3 separate regions of the Homo sapiens genome follow, and regions 2 and 3 are each linked to region 1. The links are contacts of gene promoters, found by promoter capture Hi-C in blood cells and fetal thymus (Javierre and others, 2016). All regions are on one chromosome and are shown on one strand. Each heading gives the region's core, a stretch centred on a gene start or on the middle of the fragment in contact. The rest is flanking DNA. Distances are from core to core; before and after follow the strand shown.

Region 1 (3,069 bases), core at 294-2,793:
AAGGATAGTATTTCATGAACAAAGATCTTACTTTTGAGATTTGGTCTTACTTTTTTCTTTTTCTTAAGGGAGAATTATCTTGTGTTTTTTGTTTTGTTTTGTTTTGAGATGGAGTCTTGTTCTGTCACCCAGGCTGGAGCGCAGTGACGTGATCTCGGCTCACTGCAACCTTCACCTCCCGGGTTCAAGAGATTCTCCTGTCTCAGCCTCCCGAGTAGCTGGGACTACAGGTACGTGCCACCACACCTGGCTAATTTTTGTATTTTTAGTAGAGACAAGAGTTACACCATATTGGCCAGGATCTTTTGCTTTCTATAGCTTCAAAATGTTCTTAATGTTAAGACATTCTTAATACTCTGAACCATATGAATTTGCCATTTTGGTAAGTCACAGACGCCAGATGGTGGCAATTTCACATGGCACAACCCGAAAGATTAACAAACTATCCAGCAGATGAAAGGATTTTTTTTAGTTTCATTGGGTTTACTGAAGAAATTGTTTGAATTCTCATTGCATCTCCAGTTCAACAGATAATGAGTGAGTGATGCCACACTCTCAAGAGTTAAAAACAAAACAACAAAAAAATTAAAACAAAAGCACACAACTTTCTCTCTCTGTCCCAAAATACATACTTGCATACCCCCGCTCCAGATAAAATCCAAAGGGTAAAACTGTCTTCATGCCTGCAAATTCCTAAGGAGGGCACCTAAAGTACTTGACAGCGAGTGTGCTGAGGAAATCAGCAGCTGTTGAAGTCACCTCCTGTGCTCTTGCCAAATGTTTGAAAGGGAATACACTGGGTTACCGGGTGTATGTTGGGAGGGGAGCATTATCAGTGCTCGGGTGAGGCAAGTTCGGAGTACCCAGATGGAGACATCCGTGTCTGTGTCGCTCTGGATGCCTCCAAGCCAGCGTGTGTTTACTTTCTGTGTGTGTCACCATGTCTTTGTGCTTCTGGGTGCTTCTGTGTTTGTTTCTGGCCGCGTTTCTGTGTTGGACAGGGGTGACTTTGTGCCGGATGGCTTCTGTGTGAGAGCGCGCGCGAGTGTGCATGTCGGTGAGCTGGGAGGGTGTGTCTCAGTGTCTATGGCTGTGGTTCGGTATAAGTCTGAGCATGTCTGCCAGGGTGTATTTGTGCCTGTATGTGCGTGCCTCGGTGGGCACTCTCGTTTCCTTCCGAATGTGGGGCAGTGCCGGTGTGCTGCCCTCTGCCTTGAGACCTCAAGCCGCGCAGGCGCCCAGGGCAGGCAGGTAGCGGCCACAGAAGAGCCAAAAGCTCCCGGGTTGGCTGGTAAGGACACCACCTCCAGCTTTAGCCCTCTGGGGCCAGCCAGGGTAGCCGGGAAGCAGTGGTGGCCCGCCCTCCAGGGAGCAGTTGGGCCCCGCCCGGGCCAGCCCCAGGAGAAGGAGGGCGAGGGGAGGGGAGGGAAAGGGGAGGAGTGCCTCGCCCCTTCGCGGCTGCCGGCGTGCCATTGGCCGAAAGTTCCCGTACGTCACGGCGAGGGCAGTTCCCCTAAAGTCCTGTGCACATAACGGGCAGAACGCACTGCGAAGCGGCTTCTTCAGAGCACGGGCTGGAACTGGCAGGCACCGCGAGCCCCTAGCACCCGACAAGCTGAGTGTGCAGGACGAGTCCCCACCACACCCACACCACAGCCGCTGAATGAGGCTTCCAGGCGTCCGCTCGCGGCCCGCAGAGCCCCGCCGTGGGTCCGCCCGCTGAGGCGCCCCCAGCCAGTGCGCTCACCTGCCAGACTGCGCGCCATGGGGCAACCCGGGAACGGCAGCGCCTTCTTGCTGGCACCCAATGGAAGCCATGCGCCGGACCACGACGTCACGCAGGAAAGGGACGAGGTGTGGGTGGTGGGCATGGGCATCGTCATGTCTCTCATCGTCCTGGCCATCGTGTTTGGCAATGTGCTGGTCATCACAGCCATTGCCAAGTTCGAGCGTCTGCAGACGGTCACCAACTACTTCATCACTTCACTGGCCTGTGCTGATCTGGTCATGGGCCTGGCAGTGGTGCCCTTTGGGGCCGCCCATATTCTTATGAAAATGTGGACTTTTGGCAACTTCTGGTGCGAGTTTTGGACTTCCATTGATGTGCTGTGCGTCACGGCCAGCATTGAGACCCTGTGCGTGATCGCAGTGGATCGCTACTTTGCCATTACTTCACCTTTCAAGTACCAGAGCCTGCTGACCAAGAATAAGGCCCGGGTGATCATTCTGATGGTGTGGATTGTGTCAGGCCTTACCTCCTTCTTGCCCATTCAGATGCACTGGTACCGGGCCACCCACCAGGAAGCCATCAACTGCTATGCCAATGAGACCTGCTGTGACTTCTTCACGAACCAAGCCTATGCCATTGCCTCTTCCATCGTGTCCTTCTACGTTCCCCTGGTGATCATGGTCTTCGTCTACTCCAGGGTCTTTCAGGAGGCCAAAAGGCAGCTCCAGAAGATTGACAAATCTGAGGGCCGCTTCCATGTCCAGAACCTTAGCCAGGTGGAGCAGGATGGGCGGACGGGGCATGGACTCCGCAGATCTTCCAAGTTCTGCTTGAAGGAGCACAAAGCCCTCAAGACGTTAGGCATCATCATGGGCACTTTCACCCTCTGCTGGCTGCCCTTCTTCATCGTTAACATTGTGCATGTGATCCAGGATAACCTCATCCGTAAGGAAGTTTACATCCTCCTAAATTGGATAGGCTATGTCAATTCTGGTTTCAATCCCCTTATCTACTGCCGGAGCCCAGATTTCAGGATTGCCTTCCAGGAGCTTCTGTGCCTGCGCAGGTCTTCTTTGAAGGCCTATGGGAATGGCTACTCCAGCAACGGCAACACAGGGGAGCAGAGTGGATATCACGTGGAACAGGAGAAAGAAAATAAACTGCTGTGTGAAGACCTCCCAGGCACGGAAGACTTTGTGGGCCATCAAGGTACTGTGCCTAGCGATAACATTGATTCACAAGGGAGGAATTGTAGTACAAATGACTCACTGCTGTAAAGCAGTTTTTCTACTTTTAAAGACCCCCCCCCCCAACAGAACACTAAACAGACTATTTAACTT
Region 2 (3,069 bases), core at 362-2,861, 80 kb after region 1:
AAAGAGCACCAGCTTAAAGATCAGGAAGCCAGATGCTGTTCTCTGCTCAGGCCCAGCCTCAATCATGTGGCCCTGGGCAGGCACCTCCTCAACTTGACCTCAGTTTTGCCCTTTTTACAATGGTATCTATAAGTTCTTCTTGGCTCTGCTATTCTGGAATTATCTTATGTAGAATAAGTCTTCCCAAGCTGTGTGGGGCTTTTCCTGGTAGATTTGAGGGAAGTTTTGTTCTGTTTTGTTTTATTGTTTGCTTACCCTGCTACTGCCAGTGAAGTCAACACTACAAGCAGACAGTAAGCCAGGAAACATTTCTCCCTGTCAGGTCAGCACATCCCATTAGGTGGATCTGGTGCTCAAGTTTATTAGATCAGGAGACCGATGCTGGGGAAGGCTCACAGAGTGGTCTGAGTCAGTTGCTCTACCATGAGGTTGGAGTGTAGTAGATTCAACATCCTGTGTACATCTCCTGATCAATGGCCAATCCCATCTTCCAGATTGGAAATGAAACCCACAGTAGTTTGAAATCTAGTTGGTGTCCCCCCAAGTACTTACCAGCAAAGTTATTATTTAGCTCATTACTTCCTAAATCATACCAGTGGAAAAATTAAGACTCAGGGGCATGAGGGCTTCTGTGAGATTGGGCACACCAGATTCTGAGGTTTACAGACCTTGGATGCAGGCTCTTCTCGAGTGAGGTTGAGTAGTTGCACCTGTGCTCTGCACCCTACAAATGACAGTCAGTGTTAAGATCATTTACAAGGGAGTTTTAAAAAGAGGAGAGGCTCATTGGAGAAAAAGTAGGGAAACAAATAAGAAGGTAGAAGAGAAATTCAAAAAAAGCTAGAGGGAATGAGAGTATGTACCATGAAACACTTAGAATACCTCAAATTAGTCTCCGAAAAAAGAAAATAAAGTTTCCAAAAAGTTTGGACAATACTGACTACTTTATCTCACCTCTTGGAAATTTATATCCTGTAATAGCACATCAAAATCCTTGTAAAGTTCTGTGATTTAAAAAAACAAAACAAAACAAAACAAACAACCATTTAAGCTTAACCTAGTACAAGCAAACTTTTTGATCATGGAATCCAGTTTTCTTGCAATGCTTATCAACAATCCTGGAATACAGTGTCAGAAAAACTGATCTAAGGAAACCCAGTATGCTGGAGTGAAGAGGTATAAAGAGGAAACTGGTCCCTGTCTGTAAGGAGCTTACAAAAGAGAGATGAGAATTGCCTAGATGAAGAATCTTACGGGTATTAAAGTTAAAGATAGAGAGGGGATCGTTATTATCCAGGTAAGCGGTATAGGCAGCACATGTTGTGCTTTCATTGGTTTATTCACAAGTTTCTGGACCACCTACTACATACAGACACCATACTGTGCCCTGGGATTCACCGTGAGGGCAAGGAAGACTGACCTCTCCACCTCTATGGCTTAACCTCTAGTGGGGAGAGAGAGAGAAAAAAAAAGTAAGTGTAGATGTAAGTAAATATAGAATTACATGTTGTGAAAAGAACCCTGAAGGAAATGAGGAGCAGGGTTCTCTGATGAAGTAAGGGGGACACCTGCCTGCTCTGGGGTCAACAGTGATGGGCTTTCCAAGGAAGTGACATTTAAGTTTCAGTTTGAAAGATGAAAAGAAGCCAGGCATGATGCAAATGGGGCAAAAGGATCAAAACATACTTCATAGAGCAAGTTGAGGCTGTGGGCTTGGCTCAGAGCCTAAGTAGGTTAGAGAGGGAGAAACGGGTATGCAGTCATTTCTTGATTTAAGCAATGTGCTATCGAGTCTCTAACATGAGCCATCAAGCCAAATGTGCAACAGTGAGCAAACTGACAGGCCTTGGCTTTTCTAGAACGTTCTATGGGAAAAGATGCAGAAGCAGCATAAGCATGTAACAAAACAAGGTAACTTCAGATATTGAACAATGCTATGAAGAAAATGAAGCAGAGTAATGTGATAGAGAGTGGGGTGGGGGTGCGGGGAAGAGACAGTACTTAAAAAGTTTATCAGAGATGGCCTCTCTCTCCATTTGGTACTTGAACTGAGATCTGAATGACAAAAAGGAGAGGGCTATATAAAAAGCTGTCTGGGAAAAACACATCCCAGAGAAAGGAAGAGGCAAGACCTGAGGTGGAGCATAAGTTCATGTTCTAGGAATCCAAGGAAAGCTTCTAAGTGACAGGAACAACATGACAAATGACAGGGAGGGAAGAAAGTTACGTTTTCTTTAACTATCCTTTGCTAAAATAGAGCTCTCAAGCACAGAAGTGAAGAATTAAATATTTGGAAAAGTAGGCTGTGGCCCCATTGTAGAAAACTTGAATGTCAGGGTAAAGAGATGAGACAAGTTCTCTACATGTTTTCTAATGTCACGTACAAGACATTGTTCCCAGGCACAGCACACTCCTACTGGCTTATCCACAAGTTTTACTACTTTTATTATTACAATTACACTTTTTATTATTACCCACCAAAATGCTGTGGGGTAGGGGGTGTAAGAAACCGCAATAGTTTATGAATAACTATTTATAACACTTTAAAAATGGCAAATATGGCAGAAATTGCTTCCTGTCCCCCAATATCTACTCTTTCATTCTTCCCCTGTAATATGGCTGCCAAATTTCAAGTTGAAACACGGCTACATTTCCCAGGATTCCCTGTAGCTAGGCTCAGCCATGTGACTAAGTTCTGCCCAATGGGATGTTGTAAGCAGAAGTAGAAAAGTCAGGTTCTGGATTGTGTCCTTAAGGGAGGGGGCGTATCCTTTATTCCCCTCCATCTTCTCCCTGCTATCTGGATTATGGATCTGATGGTTGGGTTTCCACTCAGGATGGTGACATGAGGGGACACACCTGAGGATGATAGAGAATTGGAAGAAACCTGGATCCTGGATGCCTGTGGAGGCTCCATACCAGCCGTGAACTGTCTACATGAAGAGTTTCACATGGCAGAGAGGTAGACTTCTCTCTGTTTAAGCCACTGTTCTTCTAGGTCTTTGTTAAACGCATCTAAAGCTGGATGCTAACTAATATAGTCACTTCTTACAAGTTGTAGCAATAAAT
Region 3 (3,069 bases), core at 428-2,927, 74 kb before region 1:
ATGACATCATGGATCTTCGTGGGACTAAAGCTTTGCAACAATGCCCACAGAGAAAGTGTGATGAAAGAACTGAGGCTCAAGAGTGAATAGACAAGTCAAACTCCAAAGAACCTCGCTAGACTAGATGTGAGCAGAGAATTCCTTTTAGCCATGTGAGATTATCCATCACAATTAATTTGGCCACTTAAATTTTAGTTGTTTTATAATTTTATTCATAGTACATTTAACTAAAAAGTTATTTTGCTACTTTGGTTATATACAACTATAAAATGAATGATTTATTCCTACTTTTATGTTTGTGTATGTGTAAATAACATTATAATAAAAGGGACATATCAATGATGGGGACTATGAGAAATTTCTTTTTTCTTAAAGGGGCTGGTCAGTGTCTCAGACTTGAAAACCACAGTGGTATAGTGTCTCTCCCAGGACTACCTGCTTTCTTCTGGCTTTCTTCTTGTGGTTTGAACCTTATAATACTCTTCCTCTTTTAAGCCACTTTATTAAGGTAGGATTGACATGCAAAAAGCTACACATATTTAATATGTACAACTTGACGAGTTTGGAGATAAATATAAAGCAAAATTTTTCCCCTCTCCTCTTATATATTATTTGTATGTATGTGTGTGTGTATGTGATAAGCTCACTTCATATAACATCTACCCATTCAGCAAATTTTTAAGTATACTATACAGTATTGTTAACTATAAGCACTATGTCGTGCAGTAAACCTTTAGAACTTATTCATTATGTATCACCAAACCTTTGAAACTTTCAACTAACACCTTCTAATATGTCCTCTCCTCAGTCCCTGGCAACCACCATTCATTGTCTGCTTCTAAGAGTTTGACTATTTTATATTTGTTGTATAAATAGTGTCATGTTGTGTTTGTCATTCTGTGTCTGGCTTATAATACTTAGCATAATATCCTCCAAGTACATCCATATGTTTGCAAATGGCAGGATTTCCTTTCCATTTTAAGGCTGAATAATATCCCATTGTATACATACATCACATTTTCTTTTTTTTACATACATTTTTTATTATACTTTAAGTTCTGGGGTTCATGTGCAGAACGTGCAGGTTTGTTACATAAGTATACATGTGCCATGGTGGTTTGCTGCACCCATCAACCCGTCATCTACATTAGGTATTTCTCCTAATGCTATCCCTCTCCTAGCCCCCCACCCCCCAACAGGCCCCAGTGTGTGATGTTCCCCTCTCTGTGTCCATGTATTCTCACTGATCAGCTCCTGCTTATGAGTGAGAACATGTGGTATTTGGTTTTCTGCTCCTGTGTTAATTTAATGAGAATGATGGCTTCCAGCATCATCCATGTCCCTGCAAAGGACATGAACTCCTCCTTTTTTATGGCTGCATAGTATTCCATGGTGTATATGTGCCACATTTTCTTTATCCAGTCTATCATTAAGGGGCATTTGGGTTGGTTCCAAGTCTTTGCTATTGTGAACAGTGCCACAATAAACATATGTGTGCATGTGTCTTTATAGTAGAATGATTTATAATCCTATGGGTATACACCCAGTAATGGGATTGCTGGGTAAAATGGTATTTCTGGTTCTAGATCCTTGAGGAATCACCACACTGTCTTCCACAATGGTTGAACTAATTTACACTCCCACCAACAGTGTAAAAGCATTCCTATTTCTCCACATCCTCTCCAGCATCTGTTGTTTCCTGACTTTTTAATGATGGCCATTCTAACTGGCATGAGATGGTATCTCACTGTGGTTTTGATTTGCATTTCTCTAATGACCAAGTGATGATGAGCTTTTTTTCATATGTTTGTTGGCTGTATAAATGTCTTTTTTTGAGAAGTGTCTGTTCACATCCTTCACCCACTTTTTGATGGGATTGTTTGTGTGTGTGTGTATGTGTGTGTGTGTGTGTGTGTGTGTGTAAATTTGTTTAAGTTCTTTGTAGATTCTGGATATTAGCCCTTTGTCAGATGGGTAGATTGCAAAAATGTTCTCCCATTCTGTAGGTTGCCTGTTCGCTCTGATAATAGTTTATTTTGCTGTGCAGAAGCTCTTTAGTTTAACCGGATCCCATTTGTCAATCTTGGCTTTTGTTGCCATTGCTTTTGGTTTTTTAGTCATGAAGTCTTTGCCCATTCCTATGTCCTGAATGCTATTGCCTAGATTTTCTTCTAGGGTTTTTATGATTTTAGGTCTTATGTTTAAGTATTTAATCCATCTTGAGTTAATTTTTGTATAAGGTGTAAGGAAGGGATCCAGTTTCAGCCTTCTGCATATGGCTAGCCAGTTTTCCCAACACCATTTATTAAATATGGAATCCTTTCCCCATTTCTTGTTTTTGTCAGGTTTGTCAAAAAATCAGATGGTTGTAGATGTGTGGTATTATTTCTGAGGCTCTGTTCTGTTCCATTGGTCTATATATCTGTTTTGGTACCAGTACCATGCTGTTTTGGTTACTGTAGGCTTGTAGTATAGTTTGAAGTCATGTAGCGTGATGCCTCCAGCTTTGTTCTTTTTGCTTAGGATTGTCTTGGCTATGTGGGCTCTTTTTTGGTTCCATATGAAATTTAAAGTAGTTTTTTCCACTTCTTTGAAGAAAGTCAGTGGTAGCTTGATGGGGATAGTATTGAATCTATAAATTACTTTGGGCAGTGTGGCCATTTTCACGATATTGATTCTTCCTATCCATGAGCATGGAATGTCACATTTTCTTTATTCATACATTTGTTGATGGACTCTTAGGTTGCTTTCATGTGTTGGCTGTTGTGAATAATAATGGAATGAACATGGGAGTGCAGATATCTCTTCAAGATCTTGATTTCAAATCCTTTGGATGCATACCCTAAAGTGGGATTGCTAGATAATAATGGTATTTTCATTTTTCATTTTTAAAGAAAAGTTTATACTGTTTTACATAGTGGCTTTGAGAACATTGTACAAGGTTCTTTATTGTCTATTACACATCCTCACCAACATTTGTTATCTGTTGGTTTTCTGAAAATAGTTGTCCTAACTAGTTTGAGGTGATATCTTATTGTGGCTTTGATTTACATGTCCCTGATTAGCAAT

Evidence for each region. Contacts are between HindIII fragments. The CHiCAGO score rates a contact against its expected background, and 5 or more counts as called.
Region 2: a fragment that was not itself captured here is called in contact with the fragment with the promoter of ADRB2 in region 1 in 4 of 17 cell types (M2 macrophages, total B cells, endothelial precursors and 1 more); the score reaches 6.1 in M2 macrophages.
Region 3: a fragment that was not itself captured here is called in contact with the fragment with the promoter of ADRB2 in region 1 in 5 of 17 cell types (monocytes, neutrophils, total B cells and 2 more); the score reaches 8.8 in monocytes.

What each region holds. Positions count from the first base shown.
Region 1 is chr5:148,825,068-148,828,136 of GRCh38, forward strand. ADRB2 (adrenoceptor beta 2) reads left to right here and starts at 1,544. Exons shown (of 1, transcript NM_000024.6): 1 at 1,544-3,069. The coding sequence starts at 1,765. The coding sequence ends at 3,006. RefSeq lists enhancers at 843-1,002, 1,859-2,444 and silencers at 1,273-1,582, 1,673-1,812. The HindIII fragment of the contact is 9,818 bases long and covers 1-3,069 here.
Region 2 is chr5:148,905,423-148,908,491 of GRCh38, forward strand. No RefSeq gene overlaps it. Among named protein-coding and RNA genes, the nearest start is that of ADRB2, 80 kb to the left of the region's middle. The HindIII fragment of the contact is 1,124 bases long and covers 1,050-2,173 here.
Region 3 is chr5:148,751,206-148,754,274 of GRCh38, forward strand. No RefSeq gene overlaps it. Among named protein-coding and RNA genes, the nearest start is that of ADRB2, 74 kb to the right of the region's middle. The HindIII fragment of the contact is 3,299 bases long and covers 29-3,069 here.